2 separate regions of the Homo sapiens genome follow, and region 2 is linked to region 1. Evidence: promoter capture Hi-C in human tissues and cell types (Jung and others, 2019). All regions are on one chromosome and are shown on one strand. The core of a region is centred on a gene start or on the middle of the fragment in contact, and the rest is flanking DNA. Distances in the headings are between cores, read along the strand shown. Region 1 holds the start of TMEM244 (transmembrane protein 244). Region 2 overlaps LOC105377999 (a long non-coding RNA gene).

The links. The method cuts DNA at HindIII sites, captures the fragments that hold promoters and counts their contacts. A contact is called where the count stands out against the background at its distance.
Region 2: a contact is called between a fragment that was not itself captured here and the fragment with the promoter of TMEM244 in region 1, in 2 of the 25 tissues and cell types used here (adrenal gland and hippocampus).

Annotation. Positions count from the first base shown.
Region 1 is chr6:129,857,613-129,864,521 of GRCh38, forward strand. TMEM244 (transmembrane protein 244) reads right to left here and starts at 3,703. Exons shown (of 5, transcript NM_001010876.2): 1 at 3,544-3,703. The coding sequence starts at 3,576. It overlaps LOC105377999 (a long non-coding RNA gene), which reads left to right. Exons shown (of 8, transcript XR_942986.3): 2 at 1,718-1,813. RefSeq lists a silencer at 6,012-6,306. The HindIII fragment of the contact is 10,214 bases long and covers 1,053-6,909 here.
Region 2 is chr6:129,936,179-129,943,004 of GRCh38, forward strand. It overlaps LOC105377999 (a long non-coding RNA gene), which reads left to right. Exons shown (of 8, transcript XR_942986.3): 6 at 1,434-1,546; 7 at 1,663-1,846. Among named protein-coding and RNA genes, the nearest start is that of TMEM244, 78 kb to the left of the region's middle. The HindIII fragment of the contact is 3,052 bases long and covers 2,925-5,976 here.

The DNA.
Region 1 (6,909 bases), core at 2,453-4,952:
GCCTCCCAAAGTGTTGGGATAATAGGCATGAGACACTGCACCCAACCCTAACATATGTTTAGATAGTAGTGGAGTTAGTGGACATTCTTGCCTTGTTCTTGGCCTTTCTGTAAATGCCTCTAGTATTCTCCATTAAGTAATACACCAGCTTTAGGATTGTAATGTGTGTGTGTATGTGTGGTTTTTTATATATATATATACACACATATATATATGTGTATATATATGTACATATATATGTATATATATATATCTGATCAGACAAAATCATTAGTTCTTATTTTATTCAGTATTTTAAATCAGGAGTGGTTCAGGAACGGTTGCCAATTTTTGTCAAAGGCAGTTTTAGCGTCTATGAAGATGAGTGAAGATGGTCATATGATTTTCTGCTTAGATATATGAACATCTAAATTATGTTAGTAGATTACCTAATATTGAACCATCCGTACATTTTTGGAATAAATGTCACTTGGTCATGATGTTTTATTTTTATGACGAGTTCTTGGGTTCTGTTTGCTAATATGTTTAGATTTTTCTGTATTCATAAGTGAGATTGATCTATAGTTTATTTTTTGTACTATATTTATATGGTTTAGGTGACAACATATTTCTTGTTTCATAAAACTTTCTTGTGGCTTTTCTTGTTTTTCTATACTCAAATGATTTAAGTAGCATTGGGAGTATATGATCTTTGAAGACTTAGGAGAATTCTTTTGTGAAATCTAGGCCTAGTCCTTCTGTAATAGCCTTCTCCATTTAGTCTATGGAAACTGGAAGCCCTTGTGTGATTTTGCAAAGCAGAATGTTCCCATTGCCTACAGTAGCTTCACTCTTCTTTACAGAGCAAGTAGCTATATTCTCTAGGTCTGGCTCATATATCATCTTCTCACTCCACCCCTCACTGCAGGACAGAATCAATCTCTATCTTATTTTAATTGCTTCCATAATATTATATTTGTCTTATAGATCTCATCAAATTTGTATTGTAGCATACCTACTTTTGGAGGTATACATTTCTTTCTCCAGTCTCTAAAAGACAGACACTGATTTGACCACATTTAATTCTTCAGCCCCCAAAATATTGGTCAGGCTTTCATAGGTATTCAATAAATATATTTTGAATAATAATCATGGAAGGAAGGAAAGAAATAATGGAAGACAAGACCACTATAGTAGGAACCATAGTCTTTTTTTTTTTTGAAACAGAGTCTTGCTCTGTCACCCAGGCTGGAGTACAGTGACACAATCTCAGCTCACTGTAACCTCTGCCTCCCGGCTTCAAGGAATTCTCTTGCCTCAGCCTCCCTGAGTAGCTGGGACTACAGGTGTGCACCACCACACCCAGCTAATTTTTGTATTTTTAGTAGAGATGGGGTTTCACCATGTTTACCAGGCTGGTATCGAACTCCTGACCTAAAGTGATCGTCCGGTTTGGCCTCCTAAAGTGCTGGGATTACAGGCATGAGCCACCACGCCTGGCCGGAACCATAGTCTATTAATAAAGTATGTGGACTCTAAGTCAGATCCACTGGAGTTTCTCCCCCAGTTCATCACTGACAAGTGTGTGACATTGGCTGGTTACTTTCTGAGTTTTGTTCTACTCATCTACAGGTAAAGTTTCATAAGGGATTTGTATTCTGAACATGTATACAATTCTTAACATTAAGTACTGTATGTTCCCAATAGATAATACTTTCTCTCTTACTTCTCCCCATAGGAAAGACTGCATTGTAGTTCTTTGGACAATTCCTGGAGAAATCATGAGATATGACTCTCTCACTTGTAGAATCACAGCAAAGGCTCCGTCCTACTGGTAAGTAGTTCCCTCTGAAATTGCCTGAATGAATGAAATTCTCCAGTTCAGGTGAACAACTCTGAGGATATGCAGGAATGTGTTGTGCTTCTGAGATTTTTACAACATTTGTTTTACAGAGGAAAGTTTACATTAGTTTAACATAGTTAGGAAACATGCCGTCTACTGGAGTAGAATACATTGTATTCTGAACAGTTTAGCAGTCCTCATACTTGGGCTTTCTTCCCAGTTCTTGTGCTATTTTCCCAGACAGCAAATTAATTAAATGGCCTTTGGCCATGACTCTTTCCCTTGAGTCAGCTTTTCTGTCATTTAAAGTGTACAGATAGGGGGGATTTAATTAGCCCAATGCCTGGCACATTGCATGCACTCAATAAATGTTTGTTGAGTATTCGAGTTATCTCTAGATGAAGGTCACTTTTGCTATTACTATTAATTTATAAGCATATCAGTAATTCTTGTGCTGATAATATTGACAGTGAACAAGCACTTAAAAGAAAAGTTAACTCATAACTTATAGGGATGTATCATGAGAATTCAGATAGTCAACAACCTATCTATTTTGAACATATTCACTATTCTTCTAATGTTCTAAGGCTCTAATTCTACACTTGAAGCTCAGATGATTCTAAGATAGTGAGGAACTGCAGCAACTATCTGGATATTTTCTCTGCAATGCGTGTGTGTGTGTGTGTGTGTGTGTGTGTGTGTGTGTGTGTGTGTCTGTCTGTCTGGTCTGTGTAAGCCCCGACTAAATATAGAGCCCCCATTCTTTGTGTAAGCTACTTAAGAGAAAGGATTTTATCTTCTAATTTTTATCTCTTCAGCAGAAGTTATTATTGCTAGTTCAATCCCAAATCTATACATAAATTACGAAGTTTAATAACCCCTTAAAAATAAGCTTTTTAAAAATATTTTTCCTGAAATAATGTTTTACTGACCTTGAAAATTTTTCTTAGCTGTTGTCATGCTCAACATTTCTCACTGATGACATATGTGGTGATGATGGTAGTGTAAAGAAAAAGCTTGAGGAAATACACACGGTGCTGATATTTTACTAAAATGAATGTAGCACTCACTCATAATTGTAATTTAATTTTTAAGTAAAAATCTGATTTTCCACTATCATTCCCTTAAGTCTGGCTCATTATAGGCCTAAAGCCTGTATGAATTTACACAGCTGCTTTGAGGCTTTGCATATTTCCTTGTTTTCGATTGTTTGATTTTTTTTTAAAGGGGTATTTTTGCACTGAAGTAAAACACAACTATTAACACTAGCCTCGGGGGAAAAAGAAACTAACAAACCTACAGCTTGAAATGTTTCAACACTTTGCATTTAAAATTTTGCGCACCCTTTAGAAGTTACAAAAATAAAAGCCACTCCCTGCAAAAAAAAAAAAGAAAAAAAGATTGAGAACAAACTGTCATGATTTCAGAAAACGATAGCAGACGTGCAGGTGCTAATACCAGAGAGCTTACCTCCGAATAAAATGGTGCCTTCTAAACAGCGACTATTTACATGTTTTAGAATCCTTTCTTGGGCATGGGTGCCTTTATATTGCCCTATTACCACAAGATGCAAGCCGTGCAGCAGAATGTTTTCTGTATGGTACCCAGCCAAAAGTGAAACAAGTTGCCCACTGACAGAGAGGCCATTTATAGAACATATTCATTTACACCAGTGCTAGGCAGCAACTGAAAGGCAATGCAAAGAAGTAATTTCTCTTTACCTTGCTTGGAGCAACTCTGACCTGGAGAGCCATGTACACATCCTACGTCAAGGAGGTGATGAAAGCCCCACTCCTTATAGCGATGACATCTGGAAGAAGACACAATTGTCACCGTGAGCTTTTCAATTACTCCTGGAGACTAAGTGTGAGACGCAGTAGTGCAGGATGATTGGATTACGCAAAACGAGACAGATGCCATCTGTGAGCCACGCGTAAGCTGCTAAGTGCCAAAATGAACATCCTTATTAAACGATGGAGTTCTCATACCATTTGTAGTTTGGTCAGATTTGAAAGATGAGTTGATTGTTTTTAGATAGTGCGGCAAATAGGCAGGGACTTGGAATCCTCTCTGGCTGTATGAGTAATTACTGTCTCATACTTAAATTAGAAACATGGGTTTTCAGTTAGGTCTTGAGATTGTTTCCAAAGGATGCTGCTGCATTCATGTTGAAGCGTGGCCTGTCCTCTCTGTTTCACTCACAAGGGCCACAGAGTTCTGAGAAAGAAATCATCAGTTCCTTTCACATCATGGCAAAGAAATGTAAAACTTATGACTTTTTGTTAGGAAACAAAAGGGTTCCCATACTCTAAAATAATGGCCACAATATTGTGGGTAGAATGTTTTCAAGAACTGCCAGGAGGCAGTATTGGAGCTCTGTCTCTCTGCGTCCTGAGGCTCCAGAACCAATCCTTCATTTACAATTCATTCTCCCATCTTTTTACTGGCACCAACTCTATTATTATTTTTATTTTAATTTTTAATTGCTGTGATTACATAGTAATATAGTAATATACCCCATAGAGTTTATGGGGTACATGATATATTTTGATATAGGCATCTAATATGTAATGATCACATCAAGGTAAGTGGGATTTCCATCACCTCAAGCATTTATTCTTTGTGTTACAAGCAATCCAATTATACCCTTTTAGTTATTTTTAAATGTACAATTAAATTATTATTGACTATAGTCACTCTGTTGTGCTATCAAATACTAGATCTTATACATTCTCTCTCTTTTTTGTATGCATTAACCATCCCCACACTCCCCCTTTTCTCCCACTACCCTTCCCAGCTTCTGGTAACCATTCTTTTACTTTCCATCTCAATGAGTTCAATTGTTTCCATTTTTAGTTCCCACAAATAAGTAGGAACATATGAAGTTTGTCTTTCTGTGCCTGGTTTATTTCACTTAACATAAGGACCTCCAGTTCCATCCATATTGTTGCAAATGACAGGATTTCATTCTTTCCTTTGGCTGAATTCTATTCTGTACCTGTACCACATTTCTTTATCCACTTGTCTGTTGATGGACATTTAGGTTGTTTCTTAATCTTGGATATTGTGAAACATGCTGCAATATACATGGGCATGCAGATACCTCTCCGATAGACTGATTTCCATTCTTTGGGGTATATGCTCAGCAGTGGGATTGCTGGATCATATGGCAGTCCTATTTTTCTCTTTTGAGGAACCTCCAAACTGTTCTCCATAGTGGCTGTACTAATTTACATTCCCACCAGCAGTGTATGAGGGTGTCCTTTTCTTCACATCCTCACCAGCATTTGTTATTGCCTGTTTTGGGATAAAAGCCATTTTAACTGGGGTGAAGTCATATCTCTTTGTAGTTTTGATTTGCCTTTCTCTGATGATCGATGATGTTGAGCACTTCTCACATACCAGTTTGCCATTTGTATGTCTTGTTCTGAGAAATGTCTATTCAGATATTTTGATCATTTTTAAATCATATTATTAGATTTTTTCCTCTACAGTTGTTTGAGCTCCTTATATATTCTGGTTGTTAGCCCCTTGTCAGATGGGTAGTGTTTGAGTATTTTTTTTCCCATTCTGCGGGTTGGTGTCTTCACTTTGTTGATTGATTGCTTTGCTGTGGCACCAACTTTAGATGGGAACTTAGCTGTGCCCTGTAATCCTTTTTCCATTACAGCATCTTGTTAACCGCTATAAAGAGCACATTCTGCAATATCTACCTGCATACCAAAAGCAAAGGTGAAAAGAGTGCCTTCAGCAAGTCCAGGCCTTGATAGTTTTCATCTGAATATGTTATTGAATTTGACATTCATAATGCATATTAATAACACTGTCAATGCTCTTTTATTAATATACCTTAGATAAATCTTTTAATGTGTGGTTGCCCTGTTCTCTGCTTATATTGTGAGTTCTTGCAGAAAAAGACTTTTCTGCCTGCTGGTAACATTGTAACAGCTCCCAGTGTTGTCTTCAGATTTCAGCACACGGTGGACCCTCAGTAAATGCTGATTGTCCAAATCCCATGCCCTGCCCTATTTGTAACAGTGATGACCCAGAATTTCTCCTTAAAGAGGGCAGGCGGAGGCCAGGTGTGGTGGCTCATGCCTGTAATCCTCGCACTTTGGGAGTCAGAGGCAGACGGATCACAAGGTCAGGATTTCGAGACCAGCCTGGCCAACATAGTGAAACCCCGTCTTTACTAAAAATACAAAAAATTAGCTGGGCATGGTGGCGGGCACCTGTAATCCCAGCTACTCAGGAGGCTTAGGCAGGAGAATCGTTTAAACCAGAAGGCAGAGGTTGCAGCGAGCCGAGATCGCGCCATTGCACTCCAGCCCTGGCAACAATGAGGGAATCCGTCTCAAAAAAAAAGGGGGGCAAGTGGAACTTCCTGGGAGTCATAGCACAGCATAAAGCAGAGGATTTGTGCCTGACTCACTCTACTCCCAACACAGGCTGCTTTGTGCACAACTCAGATGCCTTCTGAGTTACTCAGGTAAACAATAACCACCCAAAAACTATCCTCTCAGGAAGTTGGCACCATACATTGGGAACTAATACTCCAGCACTCTATTGGATAAAATACTGAAAAGTACTAATTTTCTATAATTACATTGGAAAAAAATTTGATGACCAATAGTCTAATGAGTAGAGATTATGTGTGTATGGGTATTTACATCTATAATAAGCATCTTTTTTTTTTTTCATCAGAGACACCGCACTGGATTTAAGCATTATTTTTTGAACTGCTACTGTGATCTATTGCGAGAATAAGGCATGAGGCATACACATACACATTTAGCAACTACAATTCTGATTTCCAAGTCTGTCATTAGGCTGATGAAATATTTACATGTGTACATTTTATATGTATATGTGTGTGTATATATATATATTGTGTGTACATGTATTCATTCAGCACATACTTATGATAAAGAATAAAATACATAAAACTCTTCACATTCTTTAGTTCTGAATTGTTCTCCTTGATATTTCATCATGTTTTAAATTATTTTCAGTCCCTTTGTGTAATTTGTATCTAGAGTTCTCCTTTGTTTGTTAAAATTGGACTCAGCTACTTCCTTCATGATAGA
Region 2 (6,826 bases), core at 3,201-5,700, 79 kb after region 1:
ATTAAGAGGTACATTTTACTCCATAAAATTTGTTGTTGTGGAAATTAAATATATGAATGTATATGTACTTCTTTTGCTTATATACTTATGTATCTATATTATATATAATTTTGTATATGTATTACATAAATATATTTTTTATATATTAGAGATACCTATCATATATTATATATTTATGATATTTATTTATATTATTTATATATCTTATATGAGGTAAATATATATTTATATATTACATAAATGTATAGTATATATAAGCATATACTATATATGTGTAATATGTGTATACTATATATTGTGTATATATCTATACACACACATAGAGAAAGTGAGAGAGACAGAGAGAACAGAGCCAAGTGATAGGAAGTACACTCTATTCCTGGCTCAGTAACAGACTGTGTGGAAGTGGGGGAATAATTTCACTCTGTGGACTTCAGTTATCTCTCCTGTAAAATGGAGGATAGAGTCAGGACATAGACGGCTCTTCCGACGAGGTCAGAGTTCCTCAAGGCAATTTAGGAGGAATCCAAGGTTTGCCAAGGCTTTGCATTCACCAGCTGACATGGCGCCACCACGTGGTAATAGTGTAAACAATTTAAAATGTATTGGATCCGTCAGCTTTTAAACATGATTCATCAATGTTTAATTTGAGGAATTAAGATTATTTAAACTTTGGTGCATAAACTGAGACTTTATTAATATGTTTATTTTTCACTATTTGAAATTTGCATAAAATGTGACTACACTGTATAGACAGGGAAGTTTTGAAATCTAACATTGTTTCTGTAACACAGAGTAACAACCAACTACATTTAAAAATGGGGAAAATATGATAATAGAAGAATTATTCACATCAGAAAGTATATTTTAAACAACAATATACAACATCTTTAATAGCCATATGGTTAAAAAAACTTTTCAAAATGCCTAAAGTTCCTGAAATTAGTTTAGTGAGTGGGGTAAGCGCAGAGTTGGGTGAAAAGACACAAGAGTACCTCAAGAACTTTTATTGTTAATATTATATTATCGTTTAGACTTCAAAATATTTGGGATTTACACTAAACTGAAGCACATTACACAATCTAGTAGTGAGATAGTAAGTAGAATCAAAATAGAGTATCAATTTTGTTTATTTAATATTTACATACGTATTGTCGTTTATTGAAATAACTGTATCAACTCTTGCTGCTTTTAGATATTTGATTCGTTTTTTTAGTAAATTATTAATTTTAGTACAGTTTTAGATTCACAGAAAATTTGCAAAGAAATGAATTTCCATATACCCCGTACCCAATTTTCTATGTTAGCATCTAACATTACCATGGCTCATTTGTCATAACTAAATAACAAACATTGATACATTATTATTAATTAAAATTTGTACTCTATTCAGATTTGCTTAATTTTAATCTAATGTTCTTTTTCTGTTCCAGGATGGCATATTACATTTAGACATTATGTCTTCTTGTGTTCCTCTTGGCTGTGACAATTTCTCCGATTTTCCTTATTTTTGAAGGCTTTGGCAGTTTTGAAGAGTATTAGTCAGGTATTTTGTTGACCGTTCCTCAATATGGGATTGTGAGATGTTTTTCTCATGATTGGACTGGGGTTCTGGTTACTTGGAAGGAAGACAACAGAGGTAACGTACCATTCTCTTCACAGAACATCAAGTATTCATACTGTCAACATGACCTGTTACTATTAATAACCATGATCTTCTGTTAACCTTGATCATCTGGCCAACGTAATGTTTTCCAGATTTCTCCATTGGAAAGTTACTCTTTTTCCCACTTTGCCTGTAATACCCTTTGGAAGGAAGTCACTATGCAAAACCCACACTTAAGAGGTAGGTAGAGAGCTATACTCACTTCCTTAAGTAGGAACTATGAGCATAAGTTACCCAGAATTCCGTATATTTGTCTCTTTTCCACATTTGTTTATTTATTCAGCTATTTATATTGGAAGAACTCATGAATATTTATTTTATACTTTGGATTACAATCCGTTACTACACTATCTATCTTGATGCTCAAATTGTTCTAGTTTGGGCCATTGGGTGTTCCTTGAGGTTGACTTCTCCTTTCCCTTTGACACACTCCCATCGTTTTGGTTTTGAAGCACTTCTTTACTTCCTGACACTACAAGATGCTCCAAGCTCATCTTGTATATTTCCTGCCCCAGTCTTAGAATCAGCTATTTATTCACGTTCTGGTTCATTTCATTTGAGAATGGTATTAGAAACCAACCAAGATGTGGGCACGAGGCGTGACTTTTGTTGACTTTGGATCCTCCCTCTGTATGTATTTACATAAACGCTTTCCTCTCCATGTCCTGATCATCTTAAAACTGAGCTTGTTTTAAATAGAGCTTTGAAATTTTTAAGAATAGTTTAGTCAATAAGACTTCTTGCACTCTTGCTAACTATTGTTTCAATTATTGCTACTGTTAACACCACTACTCCACTAATGGTAAAGTTTGTCACTCTCAAATATGAATTCCGGATAAAAGCTTTCTGGAGAAAAATATATGAATTATTTACGCACTTTTCCTCACTACATTCCTTTTCACTAAATCAGCAGCCAACAAATATGTGTCTCTAAGGGAATAAACAGAGCTGTGTGTACATATGCATACAGGTGTTTCCCTTTAGGCTTCTTATTGGAGCACATTGCTAGAAGAAATCTGCCAAAATTATTAGACTTTGATTCACTTGCAAGCAACACCTGTGTGTTCTCTTCATCTTTACATTTCCAAGGCTTAGCTCAATGCTTGATACATTCCAGAGGTTTCCTAAAGGTTTGCCGAATAAATTGCAGAGCCCCCTGGAACATGGTGAAGTTTACCATCAATCATTTAAATGCATCTCAGGGTTTGTTTTGTTGTTGCTGTTGTTGTTGTTGTTGCTGTTGTTCTTGTTTTGGGGGGGATTTTTTGTGATAAGTTTTTGTTGTACTTTATCTGCTTGTTTTTGCTTAGGAAGGCTTCAGTGACAGTAGTTAAAGAAATTGTGGTCACTATCACATTTTTTTTTTTTTTGGTAGAAACTGATTTCATCTCTCTGATACTGTTTTATCTGAGCCATGGTAAATTAATCACAGTTTTAGGCTTCTTCTTCACTGGTAAAATAAAGCCCAAACTGCTCATTTAAGAGAAAATGCTTGGCCAAAAGAAGCCTGTAAAACCAGAGTGTGCTTTTCCTTGATTCACAGTAAAACATGAACCCTTTATTTGAGCTCTTTATGACATGGAAAAGCATTTCTATGTATTGTGTTGAATAAGCTATTCTTCCCCCGGATGGTATTGAATTTAATTAGAAGAAAATATCTTCATGAAAATAAAGCTTTAATGATATACTGCTTCATTTTAAGACCATAAGTCATCGTATCCTCTAAATGGTGGGATAATGATGCTGAAACAAAACACTAAAGAGGGAAAAAGTTATTCATTTGGTGTTCAGTCTTTCTGTGGAAAACGTGTGTTTTTATTCTTTATCTTCCTTATATTTTTACTTCCAATTTCCCACTTAAAAGAAGATTCTCTTGTATGTTCTATTTTAATTTTACTCTAGATTCAGTACAATTTCATAAAATGAAATTCATTTAAATATAATTCAGGAACCAAGCCATCTTGAATGAAAGTATTTTGAGACAGCACTCAGGGTTTCAATATAAACACCGCCATCATCCATCCATTCATTCATTCATCCACCTATTAAAAATCTGTGTGTCTGTTGCCATCCTGGTGCTGAGAAAACATGAGTGGGAAAGAGAGATTCATCACCTCAGCAATTCGCAGGGAAGAAGGAAAAAGAAACTGAATAACGTAGTAGGATGGTCCTAGCTGAGTGAAAGAGAGCATGAGACCTGGATATGACCTGAAGTCTGGTTATATAAGAGTTTGTATGAGATAGCCTCCAAAGATAAAGTATTGTGCACAAGTGTACAACAAACGGGGTAGGTGAGAACTGAGACAACCTGCAGTCTTGTCTCTGGGCACTAGTGTTTTTCTTTTTCTGTCTTCTCTTTTTAAATAACAATTAACATTTATCAAGTGTTTGCCCAAATCTGGACACTGATCTGAATATTTTGTGTGTTCTTAGTTAATACTTCATTCTTCACAACAGCTCGTCACAACACTTGGTGCACTGAGACAGATTCTGTGTTGCCTGGAGTAGGCATTGTAACTCTCATTTCCATTTTGCAGATAAGGAAACAGAAGCACAGAGAGTTTACATAATTTCACTAAGATCATGCATCCCCAAGTGTTGTAGCCAGGATGTAAACCCAGGCAGCATGCCCCAGAGCCTTCCTCCTGCTCTAATAATGGTCTGCACTACTTGAGCTTTAAGGAGAGGGGAGCAGCAGGCACAAGCAGAAGGAGTTGTTTTTCCAAAGGGCTTCATGAGACAGGTAGAATCAGTGAAGAGGGGAGTGTGGGGTGCACACAGTGCTTCTTAGGTCTGTCAGGTGGCAACAGGTGACCTAGAGTCGGAGATTGAATCTAGCCTCGCTCCTTGAGAGTGACGGGGTCGGGAGCCCTGAAATCCACACATCTCAGAATGGATACCATTATCATTTGGAACAATGGTGGCCCTGAGACATTCTCTGGAAACTTCAGAAGCCCAAGGATAGTGACAAAGAGGGAGAGATGTTGGGAGGAATCAGGGTACGGATGGCATGGATCAAGAAAATAAGTGTAACCTAGAAGATACTCTCTGGGAACTGTTCATGATGCTGGGTGTGTTGATACAGCTTAAAGGTTATTTCAGTGTGGGGGACGCTTTGATGGCCTTGTCAAAAGTGTGTAAGCATTGCTTTGTTAGTTATTGATTTGTTTTCCCAAGCAGTGCATATGACATCCCTGAACCTTTCTCTGCTTTCTAGGTACACCATGATTATGAGAGATTTATGTTTTTCACTTCATTGAGCATGGTTTAAATGTTTATAGGTCTGTATTACTTTCATAAACTGAAAATAAAAATCTCTCATAATTTGATAGAATTGGGTTAACTGCTAAGAAAATAACAGTGCTTTATTTTAAAAAAAAGCTTCAAAATAGTAATCATAGTTTAAGAATATTGTTGACGTGAGAGAGACATGTCAGAAATTTAATTGAGCCTTACTATGCAGTCCAGATTTAAGACCAAGGGATCATACAGGTGGACCAAATAGTCACCTTCTCAGTGTCTTTAAGGCATAGATGAGAAAACTTGAGGTGTTTCACTGAAGATGCAGGTGAACTCTCAGACATGAGCAGATGTATTGCTTGGAATGACTGATGGCCTTTTCTGAGATGAGTGAGTGTAGTAAGCTGATTTCATGACTGTGCTTCTGCCAAAGGCTCCAGCCTAGTTCTCCTCTCATCTCTAAGCCCCTTCCCTCTTAGACTACCACTCTATCCGTGAAGGTAAAAATAATAGGTTGAGTTTTTCTCAAAAGCAGGGCAAAGGAGTTCATTTTCCCCTTACCTAGCAATACAAATTGTTAAAAGAAAAAGAATAAACTGGAATAAGGCTGTATTCAAATGTCTCATCAAAATGTCCCTGCCTTGGGAAATGCTTTGCCAAAGTGACCATTTCCAAGTCTCTGAAGTCAAAACAGCTGCATCTTAGTGGCTGCCTCAAAATCGTGGTATGAAAATGACTGTCAAAACAGCCCCATCAAAATGTCATGTACTTGGAGCCCATGTGAGATGCTCTGTAGACATCTCTGGGCATAATGGGACAGGAATCTCATAATGGGTTCCCCTTTGTATCCACAGTCCCTTGAAGCTTCGAAATACCCGTATTAAAATGATCACACCACGAAATAATCTGTACAGCCAACTCCCACGACACATCTTTATCTATGTAACAAGCCTGCACATCCTGCATCTGTGCCCCTGAACTTAATAGTTAAAAATAATAATAATAAAATAAAATTATCCCACCAACTAAGCATCAGGGAAAAAGTAAGCAGAAGCTTTTACAGGAGGAAAACTCCAGGAGGAGAAAGCTTCCTGTGGGAAGGGACATGGCCTGGGGATTGGAGAGATGGGGGTGCCTTGGAGAAGGGGCAACAGGGAGGAAGAAGGTATTCCAGGCAGAAAGGACAATGAACACAGAGACAGGAATGAGAAACTGAATGGGACGATGGCCACAACATACAGGTATTTCAGGTTGCTCACTATCCAACCTTTACTGAGCACCTACTGTATGCTTTAGCATGTTGTCCCCATCATTTTGGAGAGGACATAGTCAATCTAGTACATGGTACAATCTTTTTTCCTTCCACTCAGCAACAGCAAAATACATCTGGCTCCCGAAACAGTATGGTTTTCCCTCAGATATTTTTCTAAATCACATTGATTTGAATTAAATAGTTCAGAAAAATGATTTTTTCTCTTTGTTTTTTGAAATCACTTTAATCAGAATTAAATACAGAGAAACGATTTGGTTTCTTCTGAAACACACAGTTACACTGCAAATATAAACATACAAAAAACTGCTGACCACTTAAGTATTAAACATTCACTTGGTATGCTACAGCTTTTGGAAAATAAAATACCAATAATTACTCAATTTTAATAATAATACTTTGCATTCTATAGAATCAAAAAGTGTGCTGAAATATTTGAAATACTATGTCAATCTTCTTTAAAAATGAATCTTAAATATGGATTAAGTACAGATTATTTTCCAGTAACATTACTATTAACCTGAATGTTCCCATGGTAACAAGACATCTAACAGAATATAAAACAGATAACTTTCAATATTTAAATCATAACTCATAAATAAAAACATGTCTGTAGTTGTGTGAAAGTTACACATTAATTCCATTGATAA